3 separate regions of the Homo sapiens genome follow, and all the other regions are linked to region 3. The links are contacts of gene promoters, found by promoter capture Hi-C in blood cells and fetal thymus (Javierre and others, 2016). All regions are on one chromosome and are shown on one strand. Each heading gives the region's core, a stretch centred on a gene start or on the middle of the fragment in contact. The rest is flanking DNA. Distances are from core to core; before and after follow the strand shown. Region 1 overlaps ZNF487 (zinc finger protein 487). Region 2 has its middle 25 kb from the start of RASGEF1A. Region 3 holds the start of FXYD4 (FXYD domain containing ion transport regulator 4).

Region 1 (3,954 bases), core at 834-3,333, 78 kb before region 3:
ATAAAATATGGAGTCAGACTCTCTAGTTCATAAAAACTACATTTACATAGAATGTAAAAAAATGGAAAATTAAAAGAGAATTGACCAACAAAGATGAAATTGCAGCAAAGAAAAAGTGATAACACAGGAAGTGAAACTCGAATTGAGCATTTCCTGCAGTGCCACCCAGTCCTTGTTCTCATCATGCAGGTTTCCTGCTCCTCGCAGAGCCAGCAAAGTTTACTTTGCGGTGTAGGAACTCTCTTCTAGTTGTCCTCTTCTTTTCCACCCTACCATCAACTGGCAGGCTTTGCAAGTGCTCCCATAATAATGGTGCAAACTGGCCAGGTGCGGTGGCTCACGCCTGTAATCCCAGCACTTTGCGAGGCTGAGGTAGGAGGATCACCTGAAGTCGGGAGTTCGAGACTAGCCTGACCAACATGGAGAAACCCCGTCTCTACTAAAAATACAAAATTAGCCAGGCGTGGTGGCCCATGCCTGTAATCCCAGCTACTCAGGAGGCTGAGGCAGGAGAACTGCTTGAACCCGGGAGGTGGAGGCTGCAGTGAGCCGAGATCACGCCATTGCACTCCAGCCTGGGCAACAAGAGCAAAACTCCATCTCAAAAGAAAAATAATAATAATAATAATGGTGCAAACTTTGGCCAGGCACAGTGGCTCAAGTCTATAATCCCAGCACTTTGGGAGGCCAAGGCGGGTGGATCACCTGAGATCAGGACTTCGAGACCAGCCTGACCAACATGGTGAAACCCCGTCTCTACTAAAAATACAAAATTAGCCAGGCCTGGTGGCGCACACCTGTAATCCCAGCTACTCAGGAGGCTGAGGCAGGAGAATCACTTGGATCCAGGAGGTGGAGTTTGCAGTGAGCTGAGATCGCACCATTGCACTCCAGACTGGGCAACAAGAGCAAAACTCCATCTCTAATAATAATAATAATAGGCCATCCATGGTGGTTCACGCCTGTAATCCCAGCACTTTGGAAGGCCGAGGCAAGCGTATCACCTGAGGTCGGGAGTTCACAAGCAGTCTGACCAACATGGAAAAACCCCGTCTCTACTAAAAATACAAAATTAGCTGGGCGTGGTGGCACATGCCTGTAATCCCAGCTATTAGGGAGGCTGGGGCAGGAGAATCCTTGAACCTGGGAGATGGAGGTTGCAGTGAGCCAAGATCGCGCCATTGCACTCCAGCCTGGGCAACAAGAGCGAAACTCCATCTCAAAAAATAATAATAATAAAAAAATAATAATAATGGTGCAAACTCTGAAGTTTACAACGTGGCTCCAAATGTATTACTAGTAGGATCACCATAGTGCAAGTGTTATCACCTTTAGAGACGAGGAAATAGAGATGTCAAGGCTTTTTTTTCTTCTAAGTCATTGGTATCTACTGTTATTTTATACTTCACAGCCACTTAAATTTAGATGCTAAATTTACATCAGAAATACTTGATCTATAATTAGATTTTATTAAATTTACTATGGATAAAAAGGCATTCACACACCCAAATTATTCTGGGCACTTAAAAGCTTTCCGGCTGGGCATGGTGGCTCACGCCTATAATCCCAGCACTTTGGGAGGCCGAGGCGGGCAGATCACCTGAGGTCAGGAGTCGAACTCCTGGCCAACATGGTGAAACCCCGTCTCTACTCAAAATACAAAAAATTAGCCAGGTGTGGTAGCACATTCCTGTAATCCCAGATACTCAGGAGGCTGAGGCAGCAGAATCACTTGAACCCAGGATGCAGAGGTTGTGGTGAGCCGATATCTCACCATTGCACTCCAGCCTGGGCAACAGAGTGAGACTCCGTCTCAAAAAAAAACAAAGCAAAAAAGAGGCCGGGCTTGGTGGCTCACACCTGTAATCCCAGCATTTTGGGAGGCCAAGTCGGATGGATCACCTGAGGTTGGGAGTTCGAGACCAAACTGACCAACATGGAGAAACCCTGTATCTACTAAAAATACAAAATTAGCCTAGCCGGGTGTGGTGGCACATGCCAATAATCCCAGGTACTCGGGAGGCTGATGCAGGAGAATCACTTGAACCCGAGAGGCGGAGGTTGCAGTGAGCCAAGAACGTGCCATTGCACTCCAGCCCGGGCAAAAAGAGCAAAACTCCGTCTCAAAACAAAAAAGTTTTCCAATAACTGAATCAAGTATCAGTATTTAAATTAAAACTTACATTAAAAGTAAAAGTAAACATTCAGGCCTGGCATGGTGGCTCACACCTGTAATCACAGCACTTTGGGGGCCAAGGCAGGTGGATCACCTGAGGTCAGGAGTTCGAGACCAGCCTGGCCAACATGGGGAAACCCCGTCTCTACTAATAATACAAAAATTAGCCAGGAGTGGTGGTGGGTGCCTGTAATTCGAGCTACTTGGGAGGCTGAGGCAGGAAAATCACTTGAACACAGGAGGCGGAGGTTACAGTGAGCTGAAATAGTGCCACTGCACTCCAGACTGGGCGACAGAGTGAGACTCAGTCTCATTAAAAAAAAAAAAAAAATGCTTCAATACATGTTAACTGCTGAGGAACATTACAACAATATAAACAGAAATAAGCTCAAAATGCATGTTGAAGCATTACAAAATACTGAAAAGGAATTTTTTTTTAAATACTGAATTCACAAGCTTATAGTTCACTTCTGTAACACAGCTGTTAACTCTTCCTTGGTTACTTACATAATGTTAGACTGAATTAAGTAGAATTTTCCTATGAAATTAGCTTTAAATAGTGAGTTGACTTGAATAATAATATATGCATCACTGTGCTTCAACATCCAGTCCATTTCTATTCTCTGTGACTTGTGTATGTCAATATATACCAGTGTCTTGTGGTTTCTCTCTTTTCAGTACCATTAGATATACAGTTGATTTTTTTTTTTGGAGACAGAGTCTCGCTCTGTCGCTGAGGCTGGAGTGCAGTGGCACAATCTTGGCTCACTGCAACCTTCGCCTCCCAGGTTCAAGCGATTCTCCTGCCTCAGCCTCCAAAGTAGCTGGGATTACAGGCCCACGCCGCCATGCCCTGCTAATTTTTTGTATTTCAGTAGAGACAGGGTTTCACCATGTCCCCCAGGCTGGTCTCAAACTCCTGAGCTCAGGCAATCTGCCTGGCTCACCCTCCCAAAGTGCTGGGATTACAGGCCTGAGCCACTGCACCCAGCCTTTTTTTTTTTTTTTTTTTTTCGGAGACAGGTTCTTACTCTGTCACCCAGCCTGGAGTGCAGTGATGCAATCAGAGCTCACCACAGCCTCTATCTCCTGCTCAAGTGATCCTCCTGCTTCATCCTCTCCAGTAGCTGGGACTATGGGCATCTGCCACAATGCCCAGCTCATTTTTTTTATTTTTATATATTTATTTTTTTGAAACGGAGTCTTCCTCTGTCACCTAGGCTGGAGTACAGTGGCAAGATCTTGGCTCACTGCAACCTCCATCTCCAAGGTTCAAGCGATTCTCCTGTCTCAGCCTCCCCGATAGCTGGGACTACAGGTGTGCGCCACCGCGCCCAGCTAATTTTTTATATTTTTGGTAGAGACAGGGTTTCGCCATCTTGGCCAGGTCAGTCTCAAACTCCTGGCCTCAAGTGATCCACTTGCCTCGGCCTCCCAATGTGCTGGGATTACAGGCAGGAGCCACCGCACCCAGCCGACCCCATCTCCTTAAAAAAGAAAAAAATCCACATATACATAGACCCACACAGGTCAAACCCATTTTGTTTAAGGGTCAACTGTACTTTTATTATTAGAATTCAATAAGAGATGAAATGAATGCTTGATGCCCCATCTTCAATTCTCCACTTCAGCGCAAGACGAATTGAGTAACAGGGACCAGGTTATATTGGAAAAAAAAAACATTTTTTGACAAAACGTAAGGACAAAAATGGTTTCCAATTGGCCAGGCATGGTGGCTCACGCCTGTAATCCCAGCACTTTGGGAGGCTGAGGCAGGT
Region 2 (4,483 bases), core at 1,626-4,125, 80 kb after region 3:
TATCCATTCTCACCTCACCGGAAGCAGTTTCTCGACCCTGGGAAGTCCCCTCTGTGCTCACCCCCTGAGCCTGTCTCCAGGATCAAGAAGGAGGTGCCTATCCTGGTTGCTGGACAGACCCAGACCTCCCCATTTCTGTCTCTCCCTCTAGGATCGGGGACTTTGGGGGAGTGGGCCAGCCGTCCACATGAGGGGCAGGATCGGCTGTCCAAGCCCAGAGGCTGTTGCTCACAGGTGTTCCCTGGATCCAGAGGACTGTAGGGCATGTCCCCGAATTGGGCAGTGTTATTTCAGGAAACCTCAGTGGCACAGCCTTTTGCCAGGCATGAAGTCCAGGGTCCTCAGGCTGGACGAGGCGCATCCTGAGTCCAGATGCAGAGAAGTGAAGCCGCACTTCACAGTTTTTTTCTGGAGTTTCTTAGTCATGGAGCCGTGGTGCTCGGGGGCTCTCAGATACCCTAGAGTACAGCATGATCTTTTCATAGATGGGGCTGCTCTGGTCCAGGGAGGGGAAGGCCCAGAGCAAGACCCTGGGGGGTCTCAGCTGTGGCAAGCCTTTTGCTCCTGGTCACCCTGCGATTCACAGGGGTTGACACACGCAACCTCAAGCCCTCCAGAAATGCCCTCTTGGTCATGTAGTGTAGACAGGGCACTATTCAGAACCACAGTCTCGACTTCAAGTCCTGTCTTTGCCGTTTATGGCTGTGTGCCCTGGGGAATTGATTTAACCTCTCGGAGCATCTAAAATTGGGTTGCAGCTGCCCCATCACATCGAAGGGTGACTAGAAGACTGGACTGCCCTTTTCTGTTATCACTGGGTGTGTGGAGTTGATGGGAGAGAAGCAGTGCCTTTCATCTGTTCTGAAGCTGTGTTCACTCTCAGCACTTCAGAGTCAGGAGCTGGGCGGGCGGCAGGTGATTCTGCACACTTTCACCTGGAACCTGACTGGACGACCCCAGCCCTCAGTGTTTCCAACAAACCACTGAAGGACCACGAGGAAGAAGCCAGCGTCTGGGATGGTGTCCAGAACATTCTGCTGACACCTGCTGGTATGATCAAGGAAGCACCAGCTTCGACCTCGCAGAAGGGCACAGAATGGAATCTGGAGAAAGACAGCAGACGTTCTATCAGAAGTGCCATGCCACCCAGTCCTGCTGGCAAAGTGGACAGCATGGTGTGCAAAACCTGGGCATTACTGTCTCAGAATCAGAAAGGGACTCCGGCGCCTCCCTCTTGCTCAGTCTCTCTCTCCCTGCTCCCCCCCACCCCGTGATATTATTAAGGAAGAGAAACATGTTTTTAGGGACAGAAGAGGGCAGCTCTTTCTTCTGCCCTAGGGACAAGTTACTCCCAATGATTGGCAGAGCATTTGAGTCCTCGCCTCTTCCTTATGTCTCCCTGGGATTCTGTGACCTGAGAAGACAGCACAGGAATCCGTTGTATGCACAATACACACACCTGTTCTGTCAATTAAAGCAGGGAGATCATTCAAATGCAGTAGCAGTCCTCGTGAGGCCACCTGCTCTCCGCTACCAAGCCTGGGGCCCTCCCTGGAGATGACAGGGCAACCCTCCAGTGTACGTCCCTCCTGAGGGCTTCTGCTTAATTCACTTTTGTGTAATTTGAGCTTCATCTGTGAGTTAACACAAATGGATGACATGAAAAGTGTCCCATGGATTCAAGCTTCTGTGACATGCTTTTTCCACTTAGCAATGTAATCCATATTAATGCATATAGGACGACCTCATTTCTAAACTGCCGAATAGGGATCATTTATTTACACTTTTCCATGTTGCTAGACACTGGGGACATTAGTAGCTATGGACGAATTGCCCTCCAGAAATGCTGCACCTATTTACACCCCACCAATCCTAAACATTTTCATAATTCACAGTTTTTGCCAAACTGACGAGTGAAAAATGTGTCTTGTGTCTTGAGATTACGCATGTTTTCATGGATCCCAGTTGCCTGTGCTTCCTCTTCTTTGATTTGCTTGTTTATGTCCTCTCCCTACTTAGTTGTTGAATTTTCCTTAATCGTGTATCAGGGATTGTTTTTCCTGGTATAGCTGTGGCCAATGTTTCCTCTACACTGTAACTTGCCTTTTAGGTTTGCAATTAGTGTCTTTGTATGTTTGTTTTTGAGACAGGGACTCTCTCTGTCATCCAGGCTGGAGTGCAGTGGTGCCATCATAGTTCGCTGCTGCCTCAACCTCCTGGGCTCAATCTATCTTCTCACCTTAGCCTCCTGAGTAGCTGGGACTATAGTCACATGCCACTATGCCCAGCTATTTTTTGCTAGTTTTTGTAGAGATGGTATATTGCCCAGGCTGATCTTGAACTCCTGGACTCAAACAATCTGCCTGCCTCAACTTCCCTAAATGCTGGGATTACAGGTGTGAGCTATCCTGCTTTGCCTAGTGTCTTTTATTCTATAGAACATTTTTGTTTTAAATTTGATGTGGTCAAATGTATTAATCTTTCATTTGTAGCTTTTATAATTCATGTCTTAAGAATGACTTTTCTGCTGGCCAGGTGTGGTGGTTCACGCCTGTAATTCCAGCAGTTTGGGAAACCAAGGTGGGTGGATCACTTGAGGTCAGGAGTTCGAGACCAGCCTGGCCAACGTAGTGAAACCCTGTCTCTACTAAAAATGCAAAAATTAGCCGGGGGTGGTGGCATACACCTGTAGTCCCAGCTACTCGAGAGGCTGAGGCAGGAGAATCGCTTGCACCCGGGAGCGGGAGGTTTCAGTGAGCTGAGATTGCGCCACTGGACTCCAGCTTGGGCGACAGAGCAAGACTCCATCTCAAAAAAGAAATGACTTTTCTACCTCAATATATATCCTTTTATATTTTCTTCACTTATATTTTTGCATATTTTCTTTAAGTTTTATAATTTTCTTTTTTTATGAGTTGAAGGTTTTATAATTTTCTTACAATGGTTTAGATTAATACATCATCTGGATTGTTTGAGTGTTGTGAGATAGCTCTCTATCTTATGTTACAAATATAGTGAGTCAACCCAGAACCATTTTTTGAATAGCCTATATTTTCACATTCTTTTAGTTTATAGGAAGTTACTAAATGCATGGGCCTATTTCAGGACACTGTTCTTTTTTAAAGTGAGTATTTTATATATTTATTCTTTTTTAAAATGTTATTTATTATTATTTTTTTAAATTTTTTTAGAGGTGGTCTCACTCTGTTGCCCAGGCTGGAGTGTGGTGGCGTGATCATAGCTTACTGTAGCCTCAAAATCCTGGGCTCAAACGATCCACCTGTCTCAGCCTCCTGAGTAGCTCAGACTACAGGTGTGCACACCACCACACCTAGATGATTTCTATTATTGTTATTATTTTAGGCTGAGATGGGGTCTTCCAATGTTGTCCAGGCTGGCTATATGTTTATTTTTATATATTGTTTCAATTAAAATCATTTATTGCATATTTTGTGTATCACAGAGAATCTCTGCTGCATTCTTCTCTTTTTCACACTTGTCTTTTTTTGTACATTTTCTATTTCTAATTGGCTTGTCAGTTTTATAGCGGAAATCCTGTTTGATTGTAATTGATGCCAAATTTAAATTCTACACTAATTTAGGGGAAAACTGACATTTGTACCATGTTCAATCTTCCATTGAGGAACACAGTATATCTCTATTCGTGCAATACATGCTACACTTTATAGTCTTCTCCACATTGGTACTGCTCATTTTTTGTTGGGCTTCCCCTCTATGTGCTGTAACAGTGTTGCTATCATGAATGACATTTTTCTTTTCTATGTTATAATTCATCATTGCTGATAGCTAGGAGGGCTTTGTGTAGATCTTGCCACATAGTTGAATTTGTCCTAATTATTCTTATAGTTTGTTAGTTCAATTTTCTAGACAGTGTAGAAAGTCACATTGCCTGAAAAAATGACACTGCATTTTACGATAAACCTTGTGTTCTCTTGTTCATTTCCTTCCCTGTAGTTCTTAAGTCTACTGGGGTTTTCTCACTCATTTTGATAATTTGTATTTTTTCCATACATTTTTCCATGATGCCTATGATTTCAAAGCTTTCCTCATACATATTGGGCCACGAAGACTAATTTCCTTCACCCACTTCATCTTTCCCCACATCATCTGTCTGTGTTTTCTCTCTTCTCCTGACCGTCTGCCCAAGTTGCACTACCCAGGTTGGGAACGCTCATGCAAACCCCTGAGCCTCACCTGCTTCCATCGAAACTCACAGCATCACTCCATTCTGAGGGTGAGTTTTTTTCCTATTGAATTTCTAATTTTCCCATTTATTTCTATTTCATGACTTTCTACTTTTTTCTCTGTTTTTTCATTTTTGTTTTTTTGTTTGTTTGTTTGTTTGTTTGTTTGTTTTTTGAGGTAGGGTCTTGGTCTGTTGCCCAAGCTGAAGTGCGGTGGCACGATCTTGGCTCACTGCAGCTTCTGCTTCCTAGGTTCAAGCCATTCTCCCACCTCAGCC
Region 3 (4,648 bases), core at 1,872-4,371:
TTTAATCCCCCATCCCACTTTGTCTACACTAGGTCCACACTACCCCTCACCAACTTGTCTAGCAAAGAGGTCCAGGATAGGCAAGGGTAGGGTGGGGGTGGGAATATCAGCTCTTACCATAGTAGAAGGGATCGTCTTTATTGGCTAGAAAAAGTGGGGCAAAAAGACTTCAGAACCAGAACCAGGAGACAGGATGTGGGTGTCAGAGGGGAGATGTGGGCAGAGTGGGCAGGCTGTTTGGGGGCCTCACTCACCAAATGGGTCATTGGCTTCCAAGGCAGTCAGGCCTGTGTGGGAGGAGCAGAGAAAATGTGTGGGAATTCATGACACTGGTGTCCAAGTAAGCCAGACAGCAGGACCCCAGCCCGGAGGTTGTGGGGTGACCCTGGAGCCACCAGTTCCCTTCCTCACGCCCTCCCCAGCCCCACACAGCCTCAGGGTGTGGCCCCGCCCAAGCCCTGCTGTCCCAGGCTTCCTGATGCTCCTGTGTGCATGCTGACTGGGATGGTTTGTTATGTCTCTGCCCCCTGAAGAAACAGGGAATGCTTGTCTTTTTTATGAGTCGGAACCTCTCTCTGTCACCCAGGCTGGAGTGCAATGGTGCAATCCTAGCTCACTGCAACCTCGACCTCCCAGGCTCAAGTGATCCTCCCAGGCTCAAGTGATCCTCCCACCTTGGCCTCCCAAAACACTGGGATTACAGGCCTGAGCCGCTGTGCCACCCTGCTTTTGTCTTCAAGCCACAGGTGGTTAATGTTTTCCATGGTTCAATTCCTCTGGAGCTATTAGGACCTTTTTGCAATATTCTCATCCTACCTGTACTGTCATTTCCTTCATGTTTCTCTCTAAATTGGCAGTTTAAATAAAGCATGCTGATTGAACACCAGACTCCCAAAGGAGATGTTGTCTGGCTTTTGCTGCCTTTGTGGGTGGGGTGAATGCAAGAGGGTCCCAGGAGACTGGGAGGACTCACCTGCCAGTAGGAGAAGGGCCAGGGTCACTCTCTCCATGTCACAGTTCGAGGGGCAGGGCTGCAGGGGGAGAGGCACTGGGGCGGGGGTCTGCAGCCCACGGATCTGCTCCAGGCTCACAGCTCAATTGGTCAGCGAGAGGAGGCAGGGGCGGGGGCAGGCAGAGCCCCATGGTGAAAGTAGGTGTACAAACCCCAAGGATACACTTGCTTGTGGGGAGATCTTGGGAAAGTAACTACTTTCTGTCTTCCCATCTAGAGATGGTGGTGGCCTGGGGGAGTTGTGTGGATTGAGTAAGCACAAGCTAAGAGCTCAAAACTGTGCCTGCACAGAGTAAGTGCTGTAGAAGGCGTTGTTAAAATCCATGCGACAAACCCACCCCCTACTCCTCCCCATGAGGAAGATACTATTATTGTCTCTATTTCAGAGAAGAAAAAAAAAAATGGAGCTTAGAGAGGTGTAATCAGATGCCCAGGGTCAGGTGGCTGCTATTCTAAGTCAGGGTCTGGAGCCTGCCTTCCTAACCCCACACAAAGGGCATTGTTATCAGGCCCCAGGCTATTGTTCCCAAAGGTCTGGGCCTGGGGTGGCCAGAGTCCAGCACCCTCAGTCTGAATTCCCAGAGAGCCTCCACAAAAGCAAGGGTGTGGAGGAGGGAGGGAGTGCTGAGTCCTGGGATGAGATGACTGCAGCAGCCAGGACCTCCCCTGCCAGCCCTGGCAGGGGACCCTACTCCAGCAGACCCAGATTCTGCTCTCAGAGTATAGACCTCCTGTGGTATGACATTTCCCCCTCAGGTTGGAAGTAGCCAGGACCCCATTTACTTGTCCTTAGGGAGGCTGAGTCTTTGAGCGCAGGCCCCCTCCCAGCCCTCTGCATATTGTTAGCCTAGTGTGGTCAAGTTTTCAATACTGAAGCCATTGTCATCATCTGCTGTACCCAGCTCTGGCCTCCTGATGAGATCACAGATCCAGGGCCAGCTGTCTGGGCTGGGTCCCTTCTTAGCAACTTACCAACTGTGTGACTCTGCAGGTTCCTCACTGCTCCTTCACCAGTGTCCTGTAAAAGGAGGATCATCAGAATAGTAGCAACCTCATAAGGTTATAGCGATGGAATTACGTGAACTACTATTTGTCAAGCCTAAGAACTATGCCTAGCACACAGTAAGCACTAAAAACCTGTTACAATAAATACATCCATAGGCCGGGCGCAGTGGCTCACACCTATAATCCCAGCACTTTGGGAGGCTGAGGCGGGTGGATCACCTGAGGTCAGGAGTTCAAGATCAGCCTGGCCAACATGGCAAAACCCCATCTATACTAAAAATACAAAAATTAGCTGAGTGTGGTGACAGGCGCCTGTATTCCCAGCTACTTGGGAAGCTGAGGCAGGAGAATCACTTAAACCTGGAAGGTGGAGGTTGCAGTGAGCCGAGATCCTGGCACTGCACTCCAGCCTGGGCAACAGAGGGAGACTCCATCTCAAAATAAATAAATAAATACATCCATAAATAAACACATGGTCCTTCTGCAGTGGGAGGGAGGCACTGGAGGGAGAGACTGTTAGGCACTGCTTCTGAACATCGGTTCTTGGGCTAGGAGCAGTCTCCAAAGCTGGCTTCCCCCAGCCTTCACTGGTCTCTCTACCTTCACCAACCTGGAGTTCCTGGAATACGAGGGTCTCAACTCTAGGTCACATTTTTTATTTTATTATTATTATTATTACTATTTTTTTTTTTTTTGAGACAGGGTCTTGCTCTGTTACCCAGGATGGAGAGCAGTGGCGTGATCTCGGCTCACTGCAGCCTTGAACTCTCTTGGCTCAGGTGATCTCCTCACCTGAGTATCTCAAGCAGTTGGGACCAGAGGTATACCCCACCAGCTCATATATTCTTTAGCCAAGGGCTGGCTTCTGTTTCCTCCAACCCCCAACCCACCATCCATATGATAGTGGGTGCAAAGCAGGAGGCCTTCAAGCGGCTGCTGCAGCCATATCTGTCCTCAGACCCCTCAACAGGCTCCTCATTACTCAGAATTCTTGGGCACCCACCCCCTTCACCCAGCAGCCCCAAAGTGGACGCCTGCTCACCTGCGAGGTCACCTTGGCGAGGGCTCACCTGAGCTGGCAGCGCAGAGAACGGATCTGAGGAGGCTGCTGGGCACGTGGGTCGGCTCTTTAAACCCTGCAGCCACGCCCAGGGCTCCATGACGCAGGCTGGAGGGAACTGGTCAGGCTCCCTGCCACACCCAGGGCTGTTGGGGAGGGGCGGGCTGGGCCGAAGACCCTCTTTTGGCTTCTTTTTTTTTTTTTTTTTTTTTTTTTTTTCTTTTTTTGAGATGGAGTCTCACTCTGTCACCCGGGCTGGAGTGCAGTGATGCAATCTCAGCTCACTGCAACCTCTGCCTCCTGGGTTCAAGCAATTCCCCTGCCTCAGGCTCCCGAGTAGCTGGGACTACAGGTGCACGCCACCACACCTGGCTAATTTTTTTTGTATTTTAGTAGAGATGGGGTTTCAATGTGTTGCCCAGGCTGGTCTCCAACTCCTGAGCTCAGGCAATCCGCCCACCTCGGCCTCCCAAAGTGCTAGGATTACAAGCGTGAGCCACCGCGCCCAGCCTTTCTTTTGGCTTCTTTAGCTCACCCAGATCCTAAAAGAGGGACCTGGAGGGTGCTGGGCAGGGTGTTCCTGGGCTCTTGTGCCAGCTTTGGGGGTTCTGGGACCTCTGTGTGGGGGTGTCCTGGGGACCACGGAGGATACCAGGAGCCAGGCACTGACCTTGAGGCTCCCTGTGCTCAGCAGTGCCATGCCACTGCTGTCACTTGGGCTGGGTGTCTACTGAAGGGAGGCTGGTGGCCGATGGGCACCCCCGGGGGTGGCTCACCCTCTGACAGGGCCCTGACACCCACTTAGCCTCCCCCACAGGTGAGGGATGGGGCCAGGAGGAGGATAGACGCCCCCGGCTGAGGAGTGGGCTGCCTCCCTCTGCAGACCTCAGGCCTGCCTTGTTGCTGGGGGCCAAAGTCACCCCACACAGGCGTGTGGAGGACCCCAGGCCTCCCTAGTCTGCTGTTACCCCTCCTTAATTCTTTTCCAAATGAGGGACACTTGTCCCTGTCCAGAAGGTAAGGGGGGATGGCTGACAAGGGATGGGGGTCTCTGGGCTGGGAGGGCTGGGGAGGGCAATGATGGTTTAGTTGGTTTGTTTGTTTATTTATATATTTATTTTTGAGCTGGAATTTCGCTCTGTCGCCCAAGCTGGAGTGCAGTGGCTCGATCTTGGCACACCACAACCTCCACCTCCCAGGTTCAAGCAATTCTGTCTCAGCCTCCCGAGTAGCTGGGATTACCGGCACACACCACTGTGCCCAGCTAATTTTTGTATTTTTAGTAGAGATGGGATTTCGCTATGTTGAGCAGGCTGGTCTCGAGCTCCTGACCTCAGGCGATCCACTGCCTCGGCCTCCCAAAATGCTGGGATTACAGGTGTGAGACACTATGTCTGGCCCAGACATACTTTTAAGTGGAAAAAAAGTATAGGGCAGTCTGAATAGGATGCTGTCACTTGTGTAAAAATATAAAATATTGGTTGGGAAAGGCGGCTCACGCCTGTAACCCCAGCACTTTGGGAGGCTGAGGTGGGCCTGTGTCTGTGTGCATGCTGCATGGGGCTTAGCAC

Evidence for each region. The method cuts DNA at HindIII sites, captures the fragments that hold promoters and counts their contacts. A CHiCAGO score of 5 or more calls a contact.
Region 1: a contact is called between a fragment that was not itself captured here and the fragment with the promoter of FXYD4 in region 3, in 1 of 17 cell types (erythroblasts). The highest score is 5.3, in erythroblasts.
Region 2: a contact is called between a fragment that was not itself captured here and the fragment with the promoter of FXYD4 in region 3, in 1 of 17 cell types (naive CD8 T cells). The highest score is 5.1, in naive CD8 T cells.

What each region holds. Positions count from the first base shown.
Region 1 is chr10:43,448,232-43,452,185 of GRCh38, reverse strand. The region is part of intron 1 of ZNF487 (zinc finger protein 487); the gene reads right to left. Among named protein-coding and RNA genes, the nearest start is that of ZNF487, 13 kb to the right of the region's middle. The HindIII fragment of the contact is 1,102 bases long and covers 1,533-2,634 here.
Region 2 is chr10:43,289,969-43,294,451 of GRCh38, reverse strand. No RefSeq gene overlaps it. Among named protein-coding and RNA genes, the nearest start is that of RASGEF1A, 25 kb to the right of the region's middle. RefSeq lists enhancers at 1-253, 254-755. The HindIII fragment of the contact is 2,377 bases long and covers 1,687-4,063 here.
Region 3 is chr10:43,370,109-43,374,756 of GRCh38, reverse strand. FXYD4 (FXYD domain containing ion transport regulator 4) reads right to left here and starts at 3,121. Exons shown (of 9, transcript NM_173160.3): 1 at 3,060-3,121; 2 at 1,985-2,030; 3 at 974-1,242; 4 at 255-287; 5 at 118-144. The coding sequence starts at 1,010. The HindIII fragment of the contact is 9,288 bases long and covers 1-4,648 here.